3 separate regions of the Homo sapiens genome follow, and regions 2 and 3 are each linked to region 1. Evidence: promoter capture Hi-C in human tissues and cell types (Jung and others, 2019). All regions are on one chromosome and are shown on one strand. The core of a region is centred on a gene start or on the middle of the fragment in contact, and the rest is flanking DNA. Distances in the headings are between cores, read along the strand shown. Region 1 holds the start of MTFMT (mitochondrial methionyl-tRNA formyltransferase). Region 2 overlaps PARP16 (poly(ADP-ribose) polymerase family member 16). Region 3 has its middle 7.7 kb from the start of CILP.

Region 1 (4,693 bases), core at 1,460-3,959:
ACGGGAAGCTGAGACTGCACAGCATATTGCTTCACTGGCAGTCCTTTTGGTGATGGGGAAGGCATTGTGACCACCTCCAGTTTGTCGATTAACTCTTCTTCTTTGTTTTCCCTAAATTAGATAGGAAGAAAAATGTGACAGTGTTAAGGCAATGACTCAAAGCTAAAACTACTTCACATATCGCTAAGTATGTTTATGATTAATCTCATGAAGCATTTAGGGCTAAATGATTAAAACTAGTGTGAGAGACTGAGTTTTCATTTTTTCTTTTTCTTTTTTTTTTTTTGAGCTGGAGTCTCACTCTGTCACCCAGGCTGGAGTGCAGTGGAGCGATCTCAGCTCACTGCAACCTCTGCCCCCTAGGTTCAAGCGATTATCCTGCCTCAGTCTCCCGAATAGCTGGGATTACAGGCATGCACCACCACACCCAGCTAATTTTTGTGTTTTTTAGTGGAGGCAGGGTTTCCCCATGTTGGCCAGGCTGGTCTCCAACTCCTGACCTCAAGTGATCCGTCCGCCTCCACCTCCCAAAGTGCTGGGATTACAGGCGTGAACACCGTGCCCAGCCTCAGTTTTCATTTTTTATTTAATTTTAATTATTTAAAATGTAAAGAGTGACACGTGGCTAGTGGCTACTGTTTGAACAGTATCATTCTAGGGATTTCCTGTGCATACAGAAACATATACAGTATGGATACTTTACACAACTGGGATATTACATACTGCTTTGCATTTTTTTTCCTTTTAACAATGCTATATATGCTATTATGTGTCTTTTTGAAAAATGGGTTAAATATACGTATATTTGTATATTCACTGAACATTTCTAGAAGGAACTGAAAACAGTGGCTGTCTCTGGATAAAGGAACTGGGAACTGCTAAACAGAGGTGGAAGGAAGTAACTTTTCACTGTATATCCTTTGAATCCATGGAACTTTTTTACCATAACCATGATGCCATTCAAACACTACTTTTTAAAAAACAAACAAAAATACATAACATGGCTATCATTCCATGGCAGTACCTGTAGCACTACCTCATCCTTTCTACCTGCTGCATAGCATTCTAGTACCCAGGGGGGTACATTTATTAAACAGGTATTGTATGTACACGTTGAGGAGTTATGAGGAGTATGTCCTGGGGCACTATAAAGAAAGCACAGGAGTAATGGAGCTGCCAAGTGAAGCATCATCAGAAGTATCAGGATAGGCCAGGAATGATGGCTCAGGCCTGTAATCTCAGCACTTTGGGAGGCCAAGGTGAGAGGATCACTTGATCCCAGGAGTTTGAGATAAGCCTGGGCAACATGGTGAAAACCCGCCTCTACAAAAAATTTAAAAATCAGGCGTGGTGGTGCACGCCCGTAGTCCTAGCTACTCTGGAAGCTGAGATGGGATGATTGCTTGATCTTTGAGGTCGAGGCTGCAGTGAGCTATGAGCCGGCCACTGCACTCCAGCCTGGGGGACAGCGCGAGACCTCGCCTCAGAAACAAACAAAAAAAGTGTTGGTATAAATGTATAAATGCAGTGAGAGACGCATGTGACAACAGCAGCCCATGAAGGGTGTGCAAAGGGAACATGGGGTTTCCTTCCGGGTGTGTGCACAGAGGGGTGTGTGGAGGAAGGAAAACCACACAGGGGATTGACGAAGGATTCAATACATGAGGGGCTGCTGTGAAGTATCTGTAGGGAAAAGGAGATGGAGATGACCAAAAAAAGTGGAAGGAGGACTGCGTCAGAAAAAAACAGAATGGGGAAATAAAAAACATTAATTGGGAAAAAGAGGCAGAGAAGTATATACGGTATTGCCACCACATACCATGGACTCTCAGGACTGGTTGGATTTCAAATAATTTTCTTTCCCAGTAAACAAAACTTGTTAAATATTATGAATACTAAATGTATACCTAACAGTTCTGATTTATAAATTTATTCTTTTGAAAACAGGTCGTTTTTGGACTATGTCCTTGTATACAAGGAGCACAGGGGGAGCAAAAGAGCGAGACACGGGTGTGCCGAAGGATGGGGGTCAGGAGGAACTGCAAAGCAGGGAACTTTGAAGTGGGACCTGGTTTTAGTCCGAACCACCTCGGCTGATGACCTTGGGCAATCGCATAACCTCTCTGAGCCACGGATTCCCCACACTCAAAACGGGCAGGGAGGCCGTGGGACTGGCCCGGGGGATGCAGGCAGAGCGCCCAGCCCCAGCTCGGCACAGCGTGGGTGGCAGGGCGCCTGGAGAACCCACAGAGGCGGCGGGGAGTGAGGGGCGCAGACCGCAGGTACTAGGCGCCCAAAGGCTGACCGGCGGGAATGGCGCACCTTCTGGGAGCCAGAAGACGCCGAGATCTGGGCCCACACCGCTCTGCCGCCCATGCTTTCCGCAACCAGAAGTCCAAAACCCTCGGGGCCGGCCGCCCGGGCGCGGCCTGGAGGCCTTCAGCGGCCGGGTCCCCGGATCCCTGGCCCGGGTACCTGGCGGCGTGCAGCGCCCGCAGCGCCTCGCGGGCGAACTGGTCCGTGCCGAAGAAGAGCACCCGCCAGGGAGGCTTCTCGCGGACTCTGGAGTCCCGGCAGTCCTCCCAGCCGAGTCGGGCCAGTGCTCGCCACTGGGGACTCGGCCTCCCACGCCTGGCGCCATGAGCCAGCGGAGGACCCCAACAGCGCCGCACCAACACCCTCATCGCCTCGGCCGCCGGCGGCCGGCCCTGCGCAGGCGCATCGGGGCGGGGACAAGGGTGCAGCCTGGGGAGGGCGGGGCTTGCCTGCTTGGAGGCGGGGTCTGGTTGGAGTTGGTGAACGAATTTGCCCGCTACAGCGGCCCTAGATTTTTGTTCTGTTTATTTGCACTATGTAGCCAATCCTCCAGAATAAGTCTTTCTTTTCTTTTTAAAATCGCTTTATTTATTTATTTATTTATTTATTTATTTATTTCAGAAAGGGTCTTGCTCTGTCGCGCAGGCTGGAGTGCTGTGGCGCGATCTCTGCTTACTGCAACCTCACTGCTCCTGGGCTCAAGGGATCCTCCCACCTCAGCCTCCGGAGTAGCTGGGGTACAGGCACACATCACCATGCTGGGCTGATTTTTTGTAGAGAGAGTATCTCACTATGTTGCCCAGGTCTCAAGCAATCCTCCTGCCTTGGCCTCCCCAAGTGCTGGGGTTACAGGCGTGAGCCACTGCGCCGGCCCAGGATAAGTCTTTTGGTAACAAATCGTGCATGTTTTCAGACAATGAAACCTCATGTATATAGTGCATGTCATTTCCTCAACCATTATAACCAATATTTGCTGAGTACTTCACTCCGTGCCACGTTTTTGCTAAGCATTTTATATTCATTATTCTGGTTAATCATCAGATCAACCTTAGGAGGTAGATACTATTACAAATATGTTACTGAAGAGAAACTGAAGCTCCGTGAAATTAAGGACTTACCAGTGTATAAGGTCCACACAGCTAGTAAAGGACAGAGCAGAGGTGGGACTCTTGTAATTCCAACGCTTGTAATCCTAGCCGTTGGGCCTTCTCAGCGATCCTATGTATTAGGCAAGTCAATTACCCACATTTTGCACCTGAGGAAACTGAGCCTTAGTTACTTGTCTGCAGTTACTTTCTTGAATCGAAGGCTCCATCTTTACTCCTCCCCTGTGGGTTCCTTTGCACACAGAAGGATACCATAGAGGTGATTCCTAGGGAAATGGACAGGGAACCTTATCCCCAGAAGACCTCCGAGGACCGTTAGTGCTTAGATTCTGTATCCCCAAAGCCTCCTTGAGTGGAGTCAGACATCCATGAAACAGGATCTGAGCAGAGACTGAAACCGAATTTTGTTCTAATCTTATTCTCACCACCATTTTTTTTTTTTTTTTTTTTTTTTTTGAGATGGAGTCTCGCTCTGTTTTTCAGGCTGGAGGGCAGTGGCGGGCGATCTTGGCTCACTGCAACCGCTGCTTCCCAGGTTCAGGCGATTCTCCTGCCTCAGCCTCCCAAGTAGCTGGGACATGCGCCACTACACCTAGCTAATTTTTGTATTTTTAGTAGAGATGGGATTCACTATGTTGACCAGGCTGGTCTTGAACTCCTGACCTCAGGTGATCTGCCTGCCTTGGCCCCCCAAAGTGCTAGGATTACAGGCATGAGCCACTGCGCCCTGCCGTCTCACCACCTTTTCCCATCACACAGTCTTAAACCCAGTGACCCTGGACCAGTCCTTTTTCCTAAATTATGAGCTCTGCACATCCCTGCTCCTGTGCCTTTGCTCATGCTCCCTTCCTAGACTGCCTTCCCACATCTCTTCATCTCTAAATGGTATCCATTCTTCAACACGAAGTTCAGACATTCGCCCTGAAGCTTCAAGCTCTTGCCTCCTTAGATTTCTTGTCTTTCTCCATGTGCCCCTGTTTTTTTTTGTTGTTGCTGTTGTTTTTGTTTTTGTTTTTGAGACAGAGTCTCACTCTGTCACCCAGGCTGGAGTGCAGTGGTGTGATCTTGGCTCACTGCACCCTCCACCTCCCCTGTGCAAGCGATTCTGCTGCCTCAGCCTCCTGAGTAGCTGTGATTACAGGCGCCTGCCACCACGTCTGGCTAATTTTTTGTATTTTTAGTAGAGATGGGGTTTTGCCGTGTTGGGCAGGCTGGTCTCGAACTCCTGACCTCAGGTGATCCACCTGCTTTGGCCTCCCAAAGTGCTGGGA
Region 2 (4,693 bases), core at 1,640-4,139, 230 kb after region 1:
CAGCAGAGTCAAGCCAAAGCAGGGGTTCTTCACTTGAGACATATAGCCAGGTCTCGGGGAACAGAATTCCTGGAAACTGCAAAAACTTCCCATCTATGCAGTCTGACTTTGTCCACATCTGCTATACTGAACTCCACTGAAACTGTTCCTGCTGAGTTTGCCAATATCTCCAATCCAGTAAATCCAACAGACACTTCTCAGGTATAACCGTGGTTTCTCAGCACCATTTGACACTGCTCATCTAGCCCTCCTCTTTGGCTTCCATGACACTTGGCTATCTCAGTCGCCTCCTATTTCTCTGGTCACTACTACTGTCTCCTTTGCAGGCTCTCTGCTCTGTTGGGCCCTTAAAAACAAGTAATAATAGTAGCAGCAACTGATACATATCAGTGATTTACTCTGCCCTGGGCACTACATAAGCATCAATCCTCTTAATCCTCAAAGTAATCCTAGATCCGCTCTCCAACCACCAGCTAGAGTGATTTTTCTAAAAACCGTATCTCATCATTTTCTTGCTTAGAACCTTCTAATGGCTTTCCTCTGCCCACGGCTTTTTTTTTTTTTTTTTTGAGATGGAGTCTCGCTCTGTCACCCAGGCTGGAGTGCAGTCGCACAATCTCGGTTCACTGCAAGCTCCGCCTCCTGGTTTCATGCCATTCTCCTGCCTGAGCCTCCCGAGTAGCTGGGACTACAGGCGCCCGCAACCACGCCCGGCTAATTTTTTGTATTTTTAGTAGAGACGGGGTTTCACCGTGTTAGCCAGGACGGTCTCAATCTCCTGACGTCGTGATCCTCCCGTCTCGGCCTCCCAAAGTGCTGGGATTACAGGCGTGAGCCACCGCGCCCGGCCGCCCACAGCTTTTAAAGTCTTTCAAGATCTGGTCCCTGTCTACCTCTCCAGCCTGATTTCTCATCACTGCCTCTTCCTTTATAACCTGCCTGCTTTTAGCTTCTCCAAGAACTTCAGGTCTTTGCATGTGCTGTTCCTACTGCCTGAAACACTTTTCCTCCACCTTTCAGCCTAGAACCAATTCCTCTGGGGGAAGGAGATTGGTTATGTGATTGACGCTGAAATCAGTCTGCCAGGTTCAACTCCCAGCTCTGCCACATCCTAGCAATAAAACCTTGGGCAAGCTATTAAACTCTCTGGCACTGGCTGGACATAGCGGCTCATGCCTGTAATTGGGAAGCTGAGGAAGGTGGATCACTTGCGGTCAGAATTTTGAGACCAGCCTGGCCAACATGGCAAAACCCTGTCTCTACTAAAAATACAAAAATGGCCGGGCATGGTGGCTCACACCTGTAATCCCAGTACTTTGGAAGGCCAAGGTGGGCAGATCACTTGAGGTCAGGAGTTCATGACCAGCCTGGCCAACATGGTAAAACCCCATCTCTACTAAAAACACAAAAATTAGCCAGGTGTGGTGGCATGCGCCTGTAATCCCAGCTACTCAGGAGGCTAAGACAGGAGAATTGCTTGTACCCGGGAGGCAGAGGTTGCAGTGAGCCAGAGGTTGCAATGAGCTGAGATTGCACCACTGCACTCTAGCCTAGGTGACAGAGCGAGACTCCAGCTCAAAAAAAAAATTTAAGAAAGAAATAAAATAAAAATAAAAATACAAAAATGAGCCAGGCATGGTGGTGTGTGCCTGTAATCCCAGCTACAGGGAGGCTAAGGCAGGAAAACTGCTTGAACCCGGGAGGCAGAGGCTGCAGTGAGCCGAGATTGCGTCACTGCACTCCAGCCTGAGTGACAGAGCAAGACTCTGTCTCAAAAAAAAAAAAAAAAAAAAAAAGTAGATAAGGCCTGTTGTGAAAATTAACCAGTATAGTAAGGTGCCTTGCAATGTTACATGTGTCACCTGAGTATTTTCTGACCCTAGACCATGTTAGGACTCCTTGCCAAGTATTTCCCTAAACTTTATAATACCATAAACTCCCAACCTCACTCTTGAAATGTTTGTCCATCTGCCCACCTTGCAGGCTGTCAGCTCTGTGAAAGCAGGGGCTTTCTGACTTTGATCCTGCTCGTATTCCTAGTGCCTGGCATACAGTAGGTACTCACGTTTGTTAAGTCATTAACTAGAAATCCAACACCTCCTAGATATCATATCCTGGTGATATATGCTCTCCAGCAAACAGCTAGTTTGAACAAGGAAGGATGGAAGATAAAGTTTTTAACAACAAGGCATATAGGGCAGACTCACACTAAGGCTAAAAGCACTCACAAAGGCAACTTAAATCATTAAGAAAATATCTTTATTTATTCTGAAATGTTCCAATAATCAATGTAAAAACTGTGGTAGTGGCTCTTTCACAACTTTACAAATTATAGAAAAATGATTTTTCCTCTTCTTTACAGAAATGTCACTCCCAAATCGTACCGGGCCCTATTATGGCTAAAACCCAGCAGGAAGAAGGGAGCAGAGAATACAGCAAGCAGGGCTCCGGCTCTCTGGGTGGCCAGAAGGCTTTTCCTACACATTAAAGCCCAGGCTGAGTCTCAAAGACCTGTGACCCCTCTGAAGGAGGCTCCATCCACATGGATCTGTGGCACACTGGGGCAGGCCTCTGTCTTGAAGGCCAGTAGGCCACAGAAGACCTGAAAGCATGGCACTCGTGGTTGCAGGCCACAGTCAAGGCAGCTTTGTGAGAATGAGAACAGGAGGCGAGCCTATAGCTCAAATCCCTTTCTCTAAAACACAGCCAGAAAAGAGGCTGTGGACACTGGCCAAACAGTGCACTAGGTTTAGAAATTTCCCCTTTTACTCAGCAAAGACTAATTTGTTAAACAGCTATTAAAAAAAAATCAGAAAACAAACATTTGGTTCCATTTCAGCTGTAATCAGCAGTTGGTAATTTTTGGAAAAAGAGCAGTTTTCTCATCTTGAGTTGCTCATTAAGTCTGTATTTTTTATCAGGCCCCTGACTCCTTTCTTTCTCATCCATGGTTTTTTGGGGAGGGGGGCAAGTACAGCTATAGGAGAAGGCTGTTTGTTGATTTGAGAAAACTGTTAAAATGTTTTGCACTCACATACAAAGGCTGATGGAATTCAAAAATGATCCCACTGATTTTTATGAGAAACATGACTGTTCCTCTTGGGTGTCTCAAGTCAAAACAAGGCAACCGCCTAGTGATTTATAGTTCCCACATTTTCCGCCTTCCAGAAGGCATTAGAGAAAGGGCCAACCTCTGCCAGGAGAGATTGTAAACACACCACTGACAGCTTGGACACTTTGTTTTTAAATGCAGCAGGGCTTTTTCCTTTGGCCCTGGCTGAAAAGCCAACTCCCTAGGACAGTTTAAGAAGGAGCAGATGGAAGGACTCCCCTAAAACCTAAGAGTGAGGGACTAGTAGTCCCCGTTGACTGGAGTATGGCTGGGAACATCATCAAAGGCAATGGATACATTTAGGCCATATGAAAATTGTCCTGTGGTCCCCCAACTGGCCCCTAGGCTCAACCTGGCTGGACATGAGGCATAGGAGGTACAGAACAAGTTACCATAAGGCACATAGTTGAGGTAGCCCCCACACCAGGCCCAGAAAGATTATCTTTTCGCACGATTCCAAAAGTGTTGGAAAGCAGAGGAGTTGATGACACTCACTATGAGCAGCAGCAGCAGATACAGGGATATCATGACGGTAAACCAATGGCTGGAAAACCAGGAGAGCTGGCTCGAAGCCCTGCTTAAGAGGGAAAAAAGAGTGGTGTTGGCAAAAAGAGAAAAACATTTTTTTTAAGTGTGTACAACAAGTCTGGCTCTAAGAAGACAAAATGATGAATTTCATCCTTTGCCTGAGCCATGAAATGAAGCTTCGTGCTTCCTTGCTCAAGAAACCTGGGGCTGTTTGCCCAGGCACTGACACGCCTTTCAACAGGATATTTTCTAAATGCGCAAAGACAGCTATGCAATGAGCTCATCCTGATCTTCCCTTTTGTAGCTCCTCTTTTACCATTTACAACCCATCTTGGTATCTATAACAATGACCTAGCTCAGGGTGTCTGCCCAGATGGTGGCAGGTGGCAGGTAATTTAGCTGAAGTCTTTTCACTTTTAGACACATGCAGATATAAATCCAAGCTGGGGAAATCCTCTTTGGCCCACTAGGAGATGATCTAAACCACCCAAGTGTGCACTAAAGAGATGCTCCAGGGAGAAGTGGGAAAGGAATGGAATTTTCAAGGATAAAAAGTTAGATGATTTTAAACCAAAGCATAATGTCACCTGGACCCAGGCACCCTATATACATTTCCCAAATTTGGACAGGGGTCGGGAGGAGACTTTACTGGTTTATGAAGTCTGGAAGCATGGAAACCACTGGTGTGTACAAGCAGGAGTGGGGATTATTTAAAGTGACCCCTTTTCCTGTCATATCTACTTACCTGCTGCTGGCCCCTGCAAGAAGCACCATCATGGATTCCAACAATGCAACAAAATCTCAAGAGTGGCCCCCAACGCTGGTGAGCCCCACACTTACTCCCACACTGCAGAGATGGAACTAGGCATCCACCAAAGCTGATAAGGTCTGAAGGCCCACATCTGCTATTGAGTTCAAGGCCCTCATTTTAGAGATAAAGATGAAGCATCTCAGGTCCAGAGAGGGGCAGTCAGTGGTTCAGCAGCCACTGTGGGAAGCTACTGAGCCAGCCTGTGCACAATCACAACCGGTGTCCAGTCACTGCCCTGCCTC
Region 3 (4,693 bases), core at 907-3,406, 190 kb after region 1:
GTACTCAGACAACATCATTAGAACTTTTCTTTTTCCATATCTCAATTGCTTCCTCTGGATGGCTTTATTCTCAAGGAGGCTGTAGCAATCTGTATTTTCCAAAGATGGCTGCAATGGTATTTCCCCTTCCTTATGTTCTCATACAATGTAACTACACTAATCCACCATCAGGAGATAGAATCTAATTTTCCTCCCCTTGAATCTGAGCTGGCCTCATGACTTACTTGTAACCAATAAGATAAGGTCTACTTTTTTTTTTTTTTTTGAGATGGAGTTTCTCTCTTGTTGCCCAGGCCGGAGTGCAATGGCACAATCTCAGCTCATGACTACCTCTGCCTCCCGGGTTCAAACAATTCTCCTGCCTCAGTCTCCCGAGTAGCTGGGATTACAGGCATGCGCCACCACACCTGGCTAATTTTGTATTTTTAGTAGAGACGGGGTTTCTACATGTTGGTCAGGCTGGTCTGGAACTCCTGACCTCAGGTGATCTGCCCGCCTTGGCCTCCCAAAGTGCTGGGATTACAGGTGTGAGCCATTGCGCCCAGCCCTTTTTTTTTTTTTTTTTTTTTTTGAGACAGTCTTAATTAGCCAGTCGTGGTGGTGGGCACCTATAATCCCAGCTATTTGGGAGGCTGAAGCAGGAGAATCACTTGAACCCAGGAGGCGGAGGTTGCAGTGGGCTGAGATTGTGCCACTGCACTCCAGACTGGGTGACAGAGCCAGACTCCATCTCAAAAAAAAAAAAAAGGGTTAAGAGTCATGATATGAAAAAACCACTTTAATAGCTGTCAACCTCAGAGTTTACCCATCATTTGTTCCGTTCCAAACCCACCTATGTAACCCCTGCCATCTTGTAACCATAGCAACACACTCCAGAACAGTTGAGCAAAACCAAGCAACCATAATAACAACTCCAACTTAGGAAATAGGAGAAAAAGAAAGAAACCTTCAGCACTGCACATGCCACACTGGTTGCTGTGAATACTGCAGCGTACTGATCAGCACCTAGTCTTGTAAGCATGTGCTTACTCAGCGGCCATAGGTGGGAGAAGATTCCCAGAGAATGGGCTATGATCACAGCAGATACTCCAAAACGTGCTCAGTAGAGCTCTCCACCCTCTGCATAACACGCTCACTGTGGTCACCCCAGAATGCTTCTCAAGCTTAAAGCAGGGTCACCTCAGTGTTCCTATGATGGATTCAGCCCAGTCAGGGCCTTATGTTCACACACAGCATCTATAGCGTCCACCATGCTTATCACAGTGTGTTCACACACACCCTAGAGGCCCGTGTTTTCACCACTGACTACAGAATTCATGCAATGTCACCATGACATTCAACAAATTTACCATAGTATGTTCACAGTCCATAGCGTCTTCACCACACTTTCATAGTTTGCTCTCATTCAGTGACATTGTAGTGTTCACTGCATGAACCAGCTGAGTTCCTACTCTATATGTGCACGTCATAGTGTTCATACCACTGTATCCCCCTTGTATTTCCCATGAACATCCACATTCACAATTTTGTATAGGATTAGGGGGTGCACATTCACCCAGGTGTTATCTCAAGAGTGTTCACCCTCCCCTGGCTATTCACACTCACCATGGGTATGCCCTGGGTGTTCTAGGGCATAAGCTCACCCATGCACCCACCAGACTCTGCTGCTCTCCTTCCCATGACCCGAGGCCTCTTCATGACTCTCTTGAGAGGTCCCAGATGGCTCTGGGTGTGGTGTGGCTTCAGCTCTGGCCAAGATGCTGGCAGCCCAGAAAAGCCTGCAGCAGTGACAGGGGTGGCCTTGGTAGGGGATGAAGTGAGGTGGATGCTGGGTAGATGCCCTCTCTGGCTATATGTTCTCCGGACACGTGGGTATTTTATTGGTTAGAAAACACAGCTGTGAGAAGTTGAGTGGGAGGAGCCGCCCTCTTTCCAAGCAAAATCTTCGCCCATATAGCACCTGGGCCGTAAGGGTTTGGTCCCTGCCCAGGTCACCACCAGGACTCTAGCCCAGGGAAGGTGAAATGGAGGTTAGAAAGGCTGGGTCGCCCTTGGCAACTGGGCCTACACAGATGGCGTGGGACAGAGGGTGGGACAGAGACAGACACGTGGCCCTGCAGACCATTCTTAGTGGGTTTCCCTTTTTTCCTCAGAAGCAAGGCAGTCTTCAGTGTGGCCGAATCTGGGCAATGTTTTCTCTAGGAGAACAAGAGCTTCAAGGGCAGGATGTTGGGCAGTGACAAGGAAGACAAACAAAAGGGAGAAGGAATTTGAATCCCACCCCCAATTTTTAAAAGTTGAAATTTTTATATTGTAAAATTCAGTCTTTTGGATCTACACTTCTGTGATTTTTGACAAATATAATCATGTAACACCATCACAATTAAGATAAAAAATATTTCCAAAACCTCAGAAGTTTCCTTTGTAGTCAGCCCTTCTCCCCATCCCCAATTACTGACAACCACAAATCTTTCTTTCACTGTGGTTTTGCCTTTTTGAGAATGTCATATAAATGGAGGCATATGGTAGGAGCCTTTTGAATTTGGTTTCTTTCATTTAGTATAATCGTCCATGGTGTTGTGTGTATCAACCGTTCATTCCTTTTTACTGCTGAGTAGTATTCATTGCATGTACGTAGCACAATTTGTTTCTTCATTTCCCAGATGAAGGACATGTAGATTGTCTACAGTTCTTCAGCTTTTTGTTTTGTTTTGTTTAGTTTTTTGTTTTTTGTTTGTTTTTTTTGAGATGAGGTCTCGCTCTGTTGCCCAGGCTGGAGTGCAGTGGTGCGATCTCAGTTCACTGCCACCTCCGCCTCCGGGTTTAGGTGATTCTCCTCCCTCAGCTTCCCACGTAGCTGGGATTACAGGCTCCCACCACCACGCCTGGCTAATTTTTTTGTGTTTTTAGTAGAGACAGGGTTTCGCCATGTTGGCCAGGCTGGTCTCGAACTCCTCACCTCAGGTGATCCGTCTCCTTGGCTTCCCAAAGTGCTAGGATTACAGGTGTGAGCCACTGCATCTGGCCAGTTCTTCAGTTTTTTAAAAAAAATTTTATTCTTATTTTTTTGAGACGGAGTCTCGCTCTGTCACCTAGGTTGGAGTGCAGTGGCACAATCTTACTGCCCTGCAATCTCCCCCTCCTGGTTCAAGTGACTCTCCTGCCTCCACCTTCTGAGTAGCTGGAGACTACATGCACCACCACGCCTGGCTCATTTTTGTATTTTTTTTTTAAAGAGACAGAGTTTCACCATGTTGGCCAGGCTGGTCTTGAATTTCTGACCTCAGGTGATCCACCGGCCTTAGCCTCCCAAAGTGCTGGGATTACAAGTGTGAGCTACCGCGCCCGGCCCAGTTCTCTAGTTTTTAGCAAGTACATTTTAGCTATAATTTGTACACAGGCTTTTGTGTAAACATGTTTTTCATTTCTTTTGGGTAAATACCTACAAGTAGGCTCTATGGTAAGTGTATGTTCAACTTTATAAGAAACTGCTAAACTGTTTTCCAAAGTGATGGTACCTTTTACATTCCCACCAGCAATGTATGAGTTCTAGTTGCTCAGCATTCACATCAGCACCTGATATTGTCAAGGTTTTATGTTTGATTATTTGTTTGTTTTTAGCCATTCTAATAGGTGTACAGTGTGATCTCATTGTGATTTCAATTTGCATTTCCCTAGTGACCAATGATGTTAGGAATCTTAATTGCCATTCATATATCTTCTTTGATGAAGTATCTGTACAGATATTTTGCCCATTTTGTAATTGAGTCATTTCTTTTTTTTTTCTTTTTTGGAGACAGGGTCTCGCTCTTTTGCACAGGCTGGAGTGCAATGGCATCATGATGGCTCATTGCAACCTCCACCTCCCAGGCTCAAGAGATCTTCCTGCCTCAGCCTCCCAAGTAGCTAGGACTACAGGTGCATGCCACCACACCTTGCTAATTGGGTTTTATTTTTTGTAGAAATGGGATTTCATGTTGCCCAGGCTGGTTTCAAACTCCTGAGCTCAAGTTATCCTTCTGCTTCGGCCTTCCAAAGTGCCGTTTATTTTCTTATTATCGAGTTTAATGTGTACTTTATAGATTCTGGATACAATTCCTTTATCAGATATATGTTTTGAAAATATTTTTTCCCAGTCTATGGCTTATCTTTTCTAATTGATCAATTTTTTATTTTATGGATTGTGTTTTTGGTGTTGCATCTAAGAAATCCTTGCCAAATCCACAGTTGCAAAGGCTTTTTCTTCTATGTTTTTGTTTTTGCTTTTAGAGACAGGGTCTTGCTTTATTGTCCAGGCTGGAGTACAAGTGGTGCGATCATAGCTCACTGCTGTCTGAAATTCCTGGGCTCAAGCGATCTTCCCGCCTTGGGCTCCCAAAGTGCTAAGACTGCAGGCATGAGCCACCCCACTCAGCTCTCCTATGTTTTCTCTGGGACTTTTTTAGTTTTAGGTTCTACCTTCAGGTCTATGATTCATTTTGAACTAGTTTTCATATATGATGTGAAGTATGGGTCAAGGTCAGGTGCAATGGCTCACCCCTGTAATCCCGCTACTTTGGGAGGCCAAATTGGAAGAATCACTTGAGCTCAGGAGTTCAAGAACAGCCTGGGCAACATAGTGAGACCCCATCTTTACAAAAAATAAAAAAAATCAGCCGGGCTGGGACCACATGCCTATGATCCCAGCTACTCG

Evidence for each region. Contacts are between HindIII fragments. The study calls those that stand out against the background at their distance.
Region 2: a contact is called between a fragment that was not itself captured here and the fragment with the promoter of MTFMT in region 1, in 2 of the 25 tissues and cell types used here (liver and small bowel).
Region 3: a contact is called between a fragment that was not itself captured here and the fragment with the promoter of MTFMT in region 1, in 1 of the 25 tissues and cell types used here (lymphoblastoid cells).

The regions. Positions count from the first base shown.
Region 1 is chr15:65,026,930-65,031,622 of GRCh38, forward strand. It overlaps MTFMT (mitochondrial methionyl-tRNA formyltransferase), which reads right to left and starts at 2,710. Exons shown (of 9, transcript NM_139242.4): 1 at 2,476-2,710; 2 at 1-111. The coding sequence starts at 2,684. RefSeq lists silencers at 2,123-2,422, 2,673-2,862. The HindIII fragment of the contact is 8,500 bases long and covers 1-4,693 here.
Region 2 is chr15:65,255,857-65,260,549 of GRCh38, forward strand. It overlaps PARP16 (poly(ADP-ribose) polymerase family member 16), which reads right to left. Exons shown (of 6, transcript NM_001316943.2): 6 at 2,243-3,686. The coding sequence ends at 3,551. Among named protein-coding and RNA genes, the nearest start is that of SNORA24B, 27 kb to the right of the region's middle. The HindIII fragment of the contact is 5,032 bases long and covers 374-4,693 here.
Region 3 is chr15:65,216,866-65,221,558 of GRCh38, forward strand. No RefSeq gene overlaps it. Among named protein-coding and RNA genes, the nearest start is that of CILP, 7.7 kb to the left of the region's middle. The HindIII fragment of the contact is 5,084 bases long and covers 1-4,693 here.